2 separate regions of the Homo sapiens genome follow, and region 1 is linked to region 2. The links are contacts of gene promoters, found by promoter capture Hi-C in blood cells and fetal thymus (Javierre and others, 2016). All regions are on one chromosome and are shown on one strand. The core of a region is centred on a gene start or on the middle of the fragment in contact, and the rest is flanking DNA. Distances in the headings are between cores, read along the strand shown.

Region 1 (7,442 bases), core at 347-2,846, 62 kb before region 2:
CAGACCATTCATGTGCTCCATTCGTGTGCTCCAACCTTCCAGAACAGTGTTTGGCATATAGAACATTCTCAGTAGACACTTGTGGATTGAAATAAATGAATAAGCAAATCTGTGCTGATGACAGGGACAGGAGACAGGGAAATTCTGGGCAAAAGAGAGTGGTTTTCTGGCGAGGGCCCCACCTTCAAGCCAAAAAGCCTAATACCAGGGCCCAAAGTGAGAACATACATCCCTATTTTCCCACTTGAATGTTGCCTTTTCCAAAACCCATGGCCCACCTCGCCCCTCATCCTGTGCCCATAAAAACCCCAGGCTCAGCCAGCAGAGAGGAGAAGCAGCTGGATGTTGGAAACTATGGTTGGACGTCAGAGAGAGGCAGCTTGACTTTAGAGAGACAGCTTGATGGTGTAGCTTTGAAGACAAGTCCGGCTGGGGATGGCCAGACTCCAAGGGAAGATTACCTTCCCACTTTGTTCCCTTTTCAGCTCCCCTTTCCACTGAGAGCCACTTTCATCAGCAATAAAATCCCCTGCATTTACCATCTCTTATTCGTTCGTGCAACCTCATTCCTCCTGGATACCAAACAAGAACTCGGGTGTCGTGAGTGTGGGTGCAAAAGGCTGTCACACTGACCCTCCACTGAGCTGTTAACACTTAAGCCATCTGTGGATGGCAGAGCTAAAAGGGCATTGTAACACTCCTTCTGGGGCTTCAGGGGTCACGGGCACCCATCCTAGATGCTGCTGCAGGGCCCACACGGAGTTTTGCTCCTACTGGCTCCCAAAAGCACTCGCCCAGACTCCTGCACCCACTCACCTGTGCTGCTCCTGCTAAAAGGGGTGAAACACAGTGGGACCAAGATAGTGGAGTCTACTTCTTCTGGCACCAAAGCAGCCAGCTTGTTCTAACACCCATGCACTCCAGTTCCTGCCCATGAAGGGGTCAGGGAAATATCCTGCTTCCCTGATGGGAGATGTGTAAATATCACTAGGGAAATTCTCATGTTTGGAGGTGAAAGTCTGGATGAGAAAGACCTTGCTGGTACAATACTTAAGGCTGCTTTGAGATTTTTATTCTCATGAGCTCATGGGCAGCTGCTGTCTACCTCCTCTTTTCACAAAGTCTCAGCCTCCAGGAAAGGTGCAGAGCAAAAAGATGCCCACTGTCTGGCACAACTGCAGTCTTTTCTTGCTGAACTACTTACCCATGGGTCCTTCAGCCACTAAGGAGCACAAATGAAATTGCTCAGGTGTCTTGGAAGTGGCAGCATGTCCTCCCTTCCTGCCACGATCTCAGAAACCTAAAGAATTTGGTTGAAACCACACAAACAACACACACTGCGACCTGAATTCTAAACTTACAAGCAATCGCTTTATTCTTTCCCCTCCTCTGGCCAGTCCTGTTTTTCTAACCTGACTGGAAGCTTACTAAGGGAAATAAAGCCCACTACCTTTACACACCCACACCATGCTTAGTTTCCAAGGACTGCTCCAAGGGTATAGCGCTAAGAGCACAGCATTCGGAGTTATGCAGACACACTTTCACACCCTGGCTCAGCTGCTCTAGAGCTATTTAATCCTGACGTAACCTGGCTTCACTGTGCCTTGGTTTCTTCATCTATAAACCCTATTTTAGAGGATGGTTGAGAGGATTAACTAAGTAAATACATGTCTAGTTCTTATGGTCCTGGCTAAGAAAAAAACCCTTGAGACTTTCAGATAATCTGAATACACACTTGTTGTCTTGAGTCTGATCTGAAGGGAAGCTTTCAGTGGTGGTGCAAGAGGATACTGTAAATTAAATCTTCCATTCTAAAAAGAGATATGGTAGCTGAACACATACCTATACCCTGAGGGCTAATTTGGCCATTGTCCTTTTTACTTGAAGAGGTTGTTGTCCTAGATCCTATTTCCTGAGGCTTATTTCAGACCAACTGGGAAAAAATAAATGATGTTAGGATTTAACCCAGGCTCAAACAGGAAGGCTGGCCAGACCCAGGGCCACCTGGGGAGTCAAGGGGGTGGGAGCTCTGGCTCAGTCAATAGCTGTTCTAGGCACTCAGATTCTAGAACATCCTGGGTGCTCCCTGCTGCAGGCCTGGACTCGGGTCCTGTAGTTGTTTTTTGCAGTTGTTTCAGCCATTCCCCTGGGCTCCTTACCCTCAAGGTTATGGGTAGAGAAAAATCCAGGCCAGATTTTACCAGAGCCTTTTTCTCTCCTGGGTCAGAACAGGATTTTCTCTCAGTTTGATCCATTTTTTCATTTAAAAGTTGATATTCAACTTAACACAACGAAATCTCACTCCCCAGAGAATTAGAAAAATAAGCCACCCAAATCCTATTCAATAGGGTAAATATTGGGATAAGATAAACATCTGAGCTGCCTTAAAAAGACCATTGTATTCAAGCAAACTGCCATTTCCTTACCTTAAGGAAGGCTCTGAATTCAGAAAGCCTGAAGCTCTGAGGAGAGGACCCAGCTATCGTAAAAGAAGGTTATTATTATAGTCACCTTTAGCCAGAGCCAACTAGTGACAAGTTCCAGTTGGTTTGCTCATCCATTTAGGAACCCTGCAGGGTTCAGATCTCTATCCCTATTTCACAAAGGCCCATCTCTCACCCCATTTTCACCAAGACTTTGTGGCTGCCTCCCTCCCATGCCCAATGGATGGACCAGATCAAACGATCTGACACCATCTTGGTTCAATTGCCTTGACTTGCACTGGGGCTCAGAAAATGATACCCCGAAGTATGGCGCTTGAGCATGCTAAGTACTTTGAACTGAAGGAAATTGGAAAGCTTCAGAAGCAAGGACTCTCTGACCTTCTCCTGCTCTCCTATCTCTTACCCCTCTTTATTTTCCCTGCCAAAGCAAGTCATAGAAATCAGAATTCCTCTTCCCTAAGGTGGCTCATAGAAACTAGAACCACTTTCCCCAAAAGCAAGCCATAAAAACCTAGAAAGGCCACCCTCTCCCTTCTCCCTTGAAGACCTTAATTTCAGAGGTTCCTGACTTATACCCCAGGGGAGGGACTGTTACAGAGAAAATCCAAGAAGAATCTGGACAGGCCCTGCTGGGTCTCCGGCTTCATGACCATTAGATCACACCCTTTTGTTCAATCACATTTCTATACAGCTGTCCATTTTTCATGAAACCTAAACATAAAAACAGAGATTTCCCTAGATTTTGGGGTCTGCATTTCTGAAGGCTCCCATGTCACATAACACGTGATTAAATACATTTGTTATGCTTTTCTTTGTTAGCCTAGCTTTTGTTATGGTGGTGACCCTTAAGATGGGTGAGAGATCATACCTTTCCCCCCTACGCTTTGCAGCATGACCTTAGGCTCAGGGTTCCTCCTTTAGCTTCATTCTCTCCATGTCTGTCTTTGTATTTGCCACCTTCTTTCTGGGATGATAAACTGGTCAACAGTAACAATGCTGGCTGCATTTCACTGAGTAACTTCCCACATGGTTCTAAACCCTTTGTATGTATTTATATTTTTTCTTTCTTTTTTTTTTTTTGAGATGGAGTCTTGCTCTGTCACCCAGGCTGGAGTGCAGTGGCACAATCTTGGCTCACTGCAACCTCCGCCTCCCAGATTCAAGCGATTCTCCCGCCTCAGCCTCCCGAGCAGCTGGGACTACAGGTGTGTGCCACCACACCCAGCTAATTTTTGTATTTTCAGTAGAGATGGCAGTTCACCATATTGGCCAGGCTGGTCTCAAACTCCTGACCTCGTGATCCCCCCACCTTGGCCTCCCAAAGTGCTGGGATTACAGGCGTGAGCCACCGCGCCCAACCTATATATAATTTAATCCTATAAATTTCTTACTATTAGGTTGGTGCAAAAGTAATTGCAGTTTTTGATATTTAAAAGTAATAGCAAAGACCACAACTACTTTTGCTCCAACCTAATATTATTAACCACATTTTTACAGAGGCATAGGAAGTCCAGTAACATACCAACTTTAAACCCTGTGTTTTTCATCAAAATTGAAGGCAGACAACAGATAGGAAGGGCCAGAGAGCAGTCTTGGCTTTTTTAAGCCCATGACTATATCCGTGAACCCTCCTGCTGATGTTTTCCCAAAGGGCCTGTCCAGCTGGTGTTGATCAGTCCTTTGCTTCAGACTGAAGGGTGAAAGTCTGGAACAAAGGACTTTGAAAGACTTGAGATGTTAAAAAGGCCATTTGATCTCAGAAAGTCACCAGAATTCCAGAAATTTCCTTAGGGTGCAAAGAGCTGCCAAAAAAGAAAGAGGAAAGGGAAAGGGAGGGGAGGGGAGGAAAAAGGAGGGAAGGGGAGGGGAGGAGAGGGAACAGGAAAGGGGAAAATGGAAAGGGGAAAGGAAAAAGGAAAGGAGAAAGGGACGGAGGGAAGGAGAGAGGAAGGGAGGAAGGAATGAAAGAAAAAGTCTTCTCTTGGTTCTGGATAACATGGAGGTACTTCATGAAACCACCTGGGTGTTCAGAAGCCCCAGCCAAAGGCATTGTCCCAAAGGGGCCACTGGGAAGTGGAGGCTTCTCTATGAAAAGTGCACTAAAGTACAGGCTAAGAAGGTGGAGAGAGAGGTCACAGTTTGGTATTCTCGTTTTAGGGGTTGGGTGGTAGGTTTTTTTGCACTAGTTGTTGGGTTTTTTAAAGTTTCTCCTGAAGCTTGTGTTTTCAGATGACTATCTTCTGAGCAGTCAAGCAAATGGACAAACACATTAAGGCAAAAACAAACATTTACATAGTCAGGGAAGTCGTTTCTCCCAAGTCCCCTAGTTCACAGGACCATATCCATTTAGGAATTAAAACAAGCTGACTTTTTTTTTTCTGAGGAGAGTGGATTCTTTCCAGAATTCCCATATCTAGAAAGCAGGAGAGAAACAAACTTTAATGACAGGGTCCTTTCTTCCCTTTCCACAAACGACCCAATTGTCATGAGTAATGCACTTTTTCTGTTTGCAGCCTCATCATGATCCAGCAAATGAACCCCAACAATTAGCCTCTTCATTTCCATCAGACCATGTCCTTGAACTCCAGAAAGCTGCTATGGGAGCCAACCATATATATATATTTTTTTTAATTAATCTAGCTGGGCTCTGGCCAGTCATTAAAACTAGGAGATTAATCATTCCTTCCTTCTTCTTTTAAACCCATACAACCCATGTAGACCGAAAATTACAGAAAGTTCAAGCTGATAGGCTTCTTAGGGATCATCTAGTACAGTGTTTTTGAATTGAACCATTAAGGGGTCAGAAAGTCAATATAATGAGTTATAACCAGCATTTTTTAAAAAAAGACAACACAGAGAATTTCATGTAGTACAAGTGAGTATGGCTTCATGAAACATGTTTCAATTATGTATATGGTTCTGAGAGTGGCAACATAAAATTGTGGGCACTTCTTACTATGGGTCCTGGTCCAAAAAGTTTGAAAATCCTACCTCCCTGGTCTTCCAGATGGGAAAAGTCAAGCCCCAAGAGAGGCAGTGACTTACCCAAGGTTCTGTTGCAAATCAGTCCTTCTCCACCCACTTCCTGGCATGCCAACACCCCTGGCTCCCTCCCATGTGTTAGCACACAAATCAGCATGCATCAGGTCCTGCCTGGTGTTGGGTCCATCAGCATTTAACTCCTTTCAGACAGCAGGCCCTCTAGAAGGCCCAATGATACCCCATCATTTTGTCACCCCACAGCACTGAGCACAGTGCAATGCACCTGGAGCAGATGTTGAATGTCCACCTGGTGAATTACTGAGGTGAGCAGAAGTGGTCTCAGGAGGAAGAAAAGGTAAAAAAAAAAAAAAAAAAAAAACCCAGAGTGAGAATGGGCTGCCATGTTTGTGAGCTCCCAAACGCTAATGGCAATGATAACAATCGTTCCAAAGACGGCCGTCTACCAGCTTTTTATGTTCCCCCAGGAGCTGGGCTGAGCTCTGTGTATGCAATGCTTCATTCAGTCCTCACAACAAGCTGGTGGAATGCTACTGCCCCAGGGCCTACTGAAGTTTAGAAACCAGGTCATTTAGCTAACCAGGATTCAATCCCAAGTGCTATGGTTTGGATGTGGTTTGTCCCCGGCAAAACTCATGTTGAAATGTATTTGCCAATGTGACAGTGTTGACAGATGGTGGGACCTTTCAAAGGCATTTGGGTCATGAGGGATCTGCCCTAATGAAGGAATTAATGCAGTCTCAAGGAGTGGGGGAATGAGCGGGTTCTTGCTCTCTCAGGAATAGATTTGTTACCACACAAGCAGGTTGATATAAAGCAAGGCTACTCTCCTGTTTGGTCTCTTTGCATACACCCATTTTCCTTTCCACTTTTTACCCATGAGGAACACAAGACCTTCACCAAATGGACTGCCCAGTCTTGAACATCCCAGCCTCTAGAATCATGAGCCAAATAAACTTCTTTTCTTTATAAATTACCAGTCTCGGGTATTCTGTGGCAACACAAAATGGTCTAAGACAGGAAATCCCAAGCAATCAGGCATCAGACTCCATGCTTTTAACCATTGCAACCCACACCTCCTCCTGACGAATCCCTCACAGAATGTTAACTGTTGCAACAATGATTAAGCACCTAATGAATCTGTTGAAAGAGTGAATGAGTAGATGAAGGCAGAAGGGACACACTCTGCCTTGCTAAGAAGCTGGAGGCTGAACAGAGTACTGCTATGGGAAGTCAGATCTAGCCTGGAAGAACAAGCTAGCACACGATAAACATTCTTCAAAATGGGGGCAGATGCTCCTGGAACAGACAGAATCCAAAGCATTCCCATCCTTCCTTCCTTCCTCCTATTGTCACCCTTTGTGCCTCCATTGCTGACAAAACCAAAGACTGCAGCCATGTCCTCAGTCTAGTGGCCTGGAGTATGGGTTTGTAACCTAGTAAAGTCTCATGAGGCTATCCCCTAAACCAACACCTTTCCAAAATTCCTGGTTTAAAAAAAAAAAAAAGGCTTAATGTGAGGTTGAGCTGGGGAAGAGAAAACTAACTCAGCTTTTCATCGGCTTAGACTCCTGGGGTTGTCAAAGGTGGAGTGTCAAATTAAAACATACTGCAAAAATAAAAAAAAAAAAACAGAAAGCCTGTCTCTGAGAGAGAGAATCTTTTCTTCTTATTCTTCACTGTCAAGGAGGCAAAGCTGGTTTGATTATTCTTTTTTACTCCCCTTGAGAAATTCTCAATATGATTGGCAAGAAATCAGGAATAACAAGATAAAGTGGTGATGTAAATGCCAGTGGAAACAGTAGATCCATTGTGATGACCTTGTCTAAGAAGTCTCAAAGTGGGAAGAAAAGCTGGGATCTGGGCTTTGATGCAGAGCCCTTGCATGTAAAATTTACAGTATCCTTCTTATCGGAAATGCTTAAATACTTTCCCTACAGGTATTTACAATCTGTCTCAACATTTGGCTGACTCCTGGCAATTTTCTGCTTTCATTCA
Region 2 (6,805 bases), core at 702-3,201:
CAGGCTTTGTGAAAAGCAAGTCATGAAAACGCTCTGAAATTCTAGACCTTCAGTAGATAGGATCTACCGTGTCTATAAAAATATGAAGATCCTTAAGTTTTATTAAAGATTCGAAAAAAGTAAAAGTGTTTTTACGGTTTTATTTTCATTTTTATTTCTTACCGTTATCGTTTATTATAAAGGATATTATAAAGGATACAGATGAAGAGATACGTAATGCAAGGCCTGTGAGAAGGGGCGTGGAGCTTCCGAAACCTCTTCCAGCCACCACCCTCCAAGAACCTGGAGTTTCTTTTTTTTTTTTTAATTCTACAAATGTAATATTAGAATTGATTTTATCTGGCCATTAGTGTGTGTCCTAACTCGTTCGTTTCTGAGAGTCCCATCTCCCGGCCCGGATATCATCTTTCCTGTGTCAGTGAAAGTGCAGAGTAGATGAGAACCTTTAACCACCAACATTAGGGAGGGGTCCCAGACAAAGGGGGAAAGTCATGCTCTGTAGAGAAAAGGTTCCCTGCCTCCGAACTACCTCTGGAACACTCCAGACTGAAATGTTTCCTCTTTTGATATAGAAAAGAGGGATCGTGTGTAGAGTGCAGTCTGGGCAATCCCTCTCCTCGGGACCATTTCGGGGTGGGGGCCTCTGGGGTCCGTGTCGCGACGCACGCGCCTCGGTCCCAGCTATCTCCGCAGCGGCCACCCCGCCTGCGGACGCAGTTTCTCGGCCCCGCCCCACACTCGCTCCCCCGCCCCACCCAGTCTCCGCGCCGGAGGGAAGTGGCGCGAGGGGGAAAGCACTGTCTGCGCGCCCACTGCAAACCTCAGCCAGTCTGAGATCGCTTTAAACGTCTGACCCCCACCCCCACTCCGCCCCGCCCAGTTCTTCAACCTAATTTCTGATTCGTGCCAAAGCTTGTCCTCTGCTCAAAATCGTGGAAGACGCCGAGTATGGGGACCGAAGACCTGGGTTCAAGCCCGGCTTGGAATCCCTGCCCATCCCTGGCATTTCATCTCTCCGGGCTTATTTGCTGGTTTCTCCGAATGCGGGCCTTGTCTGGTTCACGCTGGATCCCCAACGCCTAGAACAGTGCGTGGCACGCAGTTCGTCCTTCTATAAATATCGGACTAAATGCATCTCTGTGATGGTAATACCCACACGGTGTTGTGAGAATGAATGAGTGATTCTGTGCAAGTTCCTAGTGATCTGTTACAAAAAGTACTGGTCGCTAAATTACTCTTATAATAAAGCATACTTTTAGGATAATAAAGCACTATTCGCGAATTGGTTACCGCTATTATGAAATTACTGAGCAATACATATCTACATCTGATCAGTCTCCAGAATTATGCCAAATCCTACCTTCTTCTGAAAGTATCTCCTAATTATCTGCACCTGACCCTAGTGATGCTGTGAATGTGCAAGTATAGCTACATCCTCCGAAGGAAGGATCTTTACTCCTTTTACCTCCTGAATGGGCTGCGTCTGCTGAAAGCGCGGGGAATGGCGTTGGAAGCTTGGCCCTACTTCCAGCATTGCCGCCTACTGGTTGGGTTACTCCAGCAAGTCACTCCCCTTCCCTGGGCCTCAGTGTCTCTACTGTAGCATTCCCAGGTCTGGAATTCCATCCACTTTAGCAAGGATGGACGCGCCACAGAGAGACGCGTTCCTAGCCCGCGCTTCCCACCTGTCTTCAGGCGCATCCCGCTTCCCTCAAACTTAGGAAATGCCTCTGGGAGGTCCTGTCCGGCTCCGGACTCACTACCGACCACCCGCAAACAGCAGGGTCCCCTGGGCTTCCCAAGCCGCGCACCTCTCCGCCCCGCCCCTGCGCCCTCCTTCCTCGCGTCTGCCCCTCTCCCCCACCCCGCCTTCTCCCTCCCCGCCCCAGCGGCGCATGCGCCGCGCTCGGAGCGTGTTTTTATAAAAGTCCGGCCGCGGCCAGAAACTTCAGTTTGTTGGCTGCGGCAGCAGGTAGCAAAGTGACGCCGAGGGCCTGAGTGCTCCAGTAGCCACCGCATCTGGAGAACCAGCGGTTACCATGGAGGGGATCAGTGTAAGTCCAGTTTCAACCTGCTTTGTCATAAATGTACAAACGTTTGAACTTAGAGCGCAGCCCCTCTCCGAGCGGGCAGAAGCGGCCAGGACATTGGAGGTACCCGTACTCCAAAAAAGGGTCACCGAAAGGAGTTTTCTTGACCATGCCTATATAGTGCGGGTGGGTGGGGGGGGAGCAGGATTGGAATCTTTTTCTCTGTGAGTCGAGGAGAAACGACTGGAAAGAGCGTTCCAGTGGCTGCATGTGTCTCCCCCTTGAGTCCCGCCGCGCGCGGCGGCTTGCACGCTGTTTGCAAACGTAAGAACATTCTGTGCACAAGTGCAGAGAAGGCGTGCGCGCTGCCTCGGGACTCAGACCACCGGTCTCTTCCTTGGGGAAGCGGGGATGTCTTGGAGCGAGTTACATTGTCTGAATTTAGAGGCGGAGGGCGGCGTGCCTGGGCTGAGTTCCCAGGAGGAGATTGCGCCCGCTTTAACTTCGGGGTTAAGCGCCTGGTGACTGTTCTTGACACTGGGTGCGTGTTTGTTAAACTCTGTGCGGCCGACGGAGCTGTGCCAGTCTCCCAGCACAGTAGGCAGAGGGCGGGAGAGGCGGGTGGACCCACCGCGCCGATCCTCTGAGGGGATCGAGTGGTGGCAGCAGCTAGGAGTTGATCCGCCCGCGCGCTTTGGGTTTGAGGGGGAAAACCTTCCCGCCGTCCGAAGCGCGCCTCTTCCCCACGGCCGCGAGTGGGTCCTGCAGTTCGAGAGTTTGGGGTCGTGCAGAGGTCAGCGGAGTGGTTTGACCTCCCCTTTGACACCGCGCAGCTGCCAGCCCTGAGATTTGCGCTCCGGGGATAGGAGCGGGTACGGGGTGAGGGGCGGGGGCGGTTAAGACCGCACCTGGGCTGCCAGGTCGCCGCCGCGAAGACTGGCAGGTGCAAGTGGGGAAACCGTTTGGCTCTCTCCGAGTCCAGTTGTGATGTTTAACCGTCGGTGGTTTCCAGAAACCTTTTGAAACCCTCTTGCTAGGGAGTTTTTGGTTTCCTGCAGCGGCGCGCAATTCAAAGACGCTCGCGGCGGAGCCGCCCAGTCGCTCCCCAGCACCCTGTGGGACAGAGCCTGGCGTGTCGCCCAGCGGAGCCCCTGCAGCGCTGCTTGCGGGCGGTTGGCGTGGGTGTAGTGGGCAGCCGCGGCGGCCCGGGGCTGGACGACCCGGCCCCCCGCGTGCCCACCGCCTGGAGGCTTCCAGCTGCCCACCTCCGGCCGGGTTAACTGGATCAGTGGCGGGGTAATGGGAAGCCACCCGGGAGAGTGAGGAAATGAAACTTGGGGCGAGGACCACGGGTGCAGACCCCGTTACCTTCTCCACCCAGGAAAATGCCCCGCTCCCTAACGTCCCAAACGCGCCAAGTGATAAACACGAGGATGGCAAGAGACCCACACACCGGAGGAGCGCCCGCTTGGGGGAGGAGGTGCCGTTTGTTCATTTTCTGACACTCCCGCCCAATATACCCCAAGCACCGAAGGGCCTTCGTTTTAAGACCGCATTCTCTTTACCCACTACAAGTTGCTTGAAGCCCAGAATGGTTTGTATTTAGGCAGGCGTGGGAAAATTAAGTTTTTGCGCTTTAGGAGAATGAGTCTTTGCAACGCCCCCGCCCTCCCCCCGTGATCCTCCCTTCTCCCCTCTTCCCTCCCTGGGCGAAAAACTTCTTACAAAAAGTTAATCACTGCCCCTCCTAGCAGCACCCACCCCACCCCCCACGCCGCCTGGGAGTGGCCTCTTTGTGTGTATTTTTTTTTTCCTCCTAAGGAAGGTTTTTTTTCTTCCCTCTAGTGGGCGGGGCAGAGGAGTTAGCCAAGATGTGACTTTGAAACCCTCAGCGTCTCAGTGCCCTTTTGTTCTAAACAAAGAATTTTGTAATTGGTTCTACCAAAGAAGGATATAATGAAGTCACTATGGGAAAAGATGGGGAGGAGAGTTGTAGGATTCTACATTAATTCTCTTGTGCCCTTAGCCCACTACTTCAGAATTTCCTGAAGAAAGCAAGCCTGAATTGGTTTTTTAAATTGCTTTAAAAATTTTTTTTAACTGGGTTAATGCTTGCTGAATTGGAAGTGAATGTCCATTCCTTTGCCTCTTTTGCAGATATACACTTCAGATAACTACACCGAGGAAATGGGCTCAGGGGACTATGACTCCATGAAGGAACCCTGTTTCCGTGAAGAAAATGCTAATTTCAATAAAATCTTCCTGCCCACCATCTACTCCATCATCTTCTTAACTGGCATTGTGGGCAATGGATTGGTCATCCTGGTCATGGGTTACCAGAAGAAACTGAGAAGCATGACGGACAAGTACAGGCTGCACCTGTCAGTGGCCGACCTCCTCTTTGTCATCACGCTTCCCTTCTGGGCAGTTGATGCCGTGGCAAACTGGTACTTTGGGAACTTCCTATGCAAGGCAGTCCATGTCATCTACACAGTCAACCTCTACAGCAGTGTCCTCATCCTGGCCTTCATCAGTCTGGACCGCTACCTGGCCATCGTCCACGCCACCAACAGTCAGAGGCCAAGGAAGCTGTTGGCTGAAAAGGTGGTCTATGTTGGCGTCTGGATCCCTGCCCTCCTGCTGACTATTCCCGACTTCATCTTTGCCAACGTCAGTGAGGCAGATGACAGATATATCTGTGACCGCTTCTACCCCAATGACTTGTGGGTGGTTGTGTTCCAGTTTCAGCACATCATGGTTGGCCTTATCCTGCCTGGTATTGTCATCCTGTCCTGCTATTGCATTATCATCTCCAAGCTGTCACACTCCAAGGGCCACCAGAAGCGCAAGGCCCTCAAGACCACAGTCATCCTCATCCTGGCTTTCTTCGCCTGTTGGCTGCCTTACTACATTGGGATCAGCATCGACTCCTTCATCCTCCTGGAAATCATCAAGCAAGGGTGTGAGTTTGAGAACACTGTGCACAAGTGGATTTCCATCACCGAGGCCCTAGCTTTCTTCCACTGTTGTCTGAACCCCATCCTCTATGCTTTCCTTGGAGCCAAATTTAAAACCTCTGCCCAGCACGCACTCACCTCTGTGAGCAGAGGGTCCAGCCTCAAGATCCTCTCCAAAGGAAAGCGAGGTGGACATTCATCTGTTTCCACTGAGTCTGAGTCTTCAAGTTTTCACTCCAGCTAACACAGATGTAAAAGACTTTTTTTTATACGATAAATAACTTTTTTTTAAGTTACACATTTTTCAGATATAAAAGACTGACCAATATTGTACAGTTTTTATTGCTTGTTGGATTTTTGTCTTGTGTTTCTTTAGTTTTTGTGAAGTTTAATTGACTTATTTATATAAATTTTTTTTGTTTCATATTGATGTGTGTCTAGGCAGGACCTGTGGCCAAGTTCTTAGTTGCTGTATGTCTCGTGGTAGGACTGTAGAAAAGGGAACTGAACATTCCAGAGCGTGTAGTGAATCACGTAAAGCTAGAAATGATCCCCAGCTGTTTATGCATAGATAATCTCTCCATTCCCGTGGAACGTTTTTCCTGTTCTTAAGACGTGATTTTGCTGTAGAAGATGGCACTTATAACCAAAGCCCAAAGTGGTATAGAAATGCTGGTTTTTCAGTTTTCAGGAGTGGGTTGATTTCAGCACCTACAGTGTACAGTCTTGTATTAAGTTGTTAATAAAAGTACATGTTAAACTTACTTAGTGTTATGTTCTGATTTCTGTTGACATTCTTTTGGCTAGTAGAAGACAAAAGTAATACATTTATGGTATGCAAAGCACTATCCTAGGTATTTCATTGTAATATTTTACTTACCCCTTATCACAACTCTGATAGATTCTGCTTCTGTTACTAATTACATTTTATAGAAGAGGAAACGGAGGCACAGAAAGCCTAAGTAACTTGGTTAAAGGCATGTAGTAAGTATCAAATCCTGTATTTTAAACCAGGTAACATGACTTAACGAATCTGAAGCCTTCACCACTTTAAATTCAAATGGAAGTTTAGAAATGGCCAGCCAGCACCTATTTGTATGAAAGGTCATCTTTCAGAGGATAAGCATGTATAAAGAAGAAAAGGTATGCAGTCGTGTTTGGATTTTACTCCACCATCCACTTGTGAAACCCAGGTCTGTGCAATGCCAGACGGTGTGTGCTTTCCTCATCCAGTATCCTCAGTGTAGATAACCATCACTCCCTTTTCACAGACAAGAGAACTGAGATTCAGAGACTTTCCATACATTGCACTTTCAAGGGGGCAAAGCCAAGAACTAATTCTGTTTATTGTTCCAGCTCTTGCTCTTAACTCTTACCTACTATTGCCCTTCAGAACACCTGGGCATAAGTCAACTGAACTGCTAATAAAGAAAGCCAAAAGTGAATGTTTTCTTCATAAAATTAACCATGACCAAAATACTCCTCTTGTAATATCTTCTATGCAAATCTCAACACTTTTATTCTTAAACTATCGCAACACCTAGCACCTCCTCAAGGACTCAGCCAAGCAGCTACAAGTTAATACTGATATTTGTTAGAGTCAGAAGGAAGGTCCACTGAAGCAAGCTCCCTGTTGCTCACATTTTGCACAAGATTTTGGAGACTTATGTAACCACCCGTTGCTATTAACACGACCATTGTGCAAGCCCCAGGCTCTTGAGTAAATTTCAGCTTTGGTTTCTATTTAAAGATAATTTCTAAACTCTAGCCATACCTACCTCACATTGGAACACAAACAGGGTACACTCCAGGCATGCA

What was found. Contacts are between HindIII fragments. The CHiCAGO score rates a contact against its expected background, and 5 or more counts as called.
Region 1: a fragment that was not itself captured here is called in contact with the fragment with the promoter of CXCR4 in region 2 in 1 of 17 cell types (non-activated CD4 T cells); the score reaches 6.2 in non-activated CD4 T cells.

What each region holds. Positions count from the first base shown.
Region 1 is chr2:136,174,178-136,181,619 of GRCh38, reverse strand. No RefSeq gene overlaps it. Among named protein-coding and RNA genes, the nearest start is that of CXCR4, 60 kb to the right of the region's middle. The HindIII fragment of the contact is 342 bases long and covers 1,426-1,767 here.
Region 2 is chr2:136,113,295-136,120,099 of GRCh38, reverse strand. It overlaps CXCR4 (C-X-C motif chemokine receptor 4), which reads left to right and starts at 1,951. Exons shown (of 2, transcript NM_003467.3): 1 at 1,951-2,054; 2 at 4,188-5,751. The coding sequence starts at 2,040. The coding sequence ends at 5,231. RefSeq lists an enhancer at 2,960-3,029 and a silencer at 3,160-3,329. The HindIII fragment of the contact is 7,141 bases long and covers 1,517-6,805 here.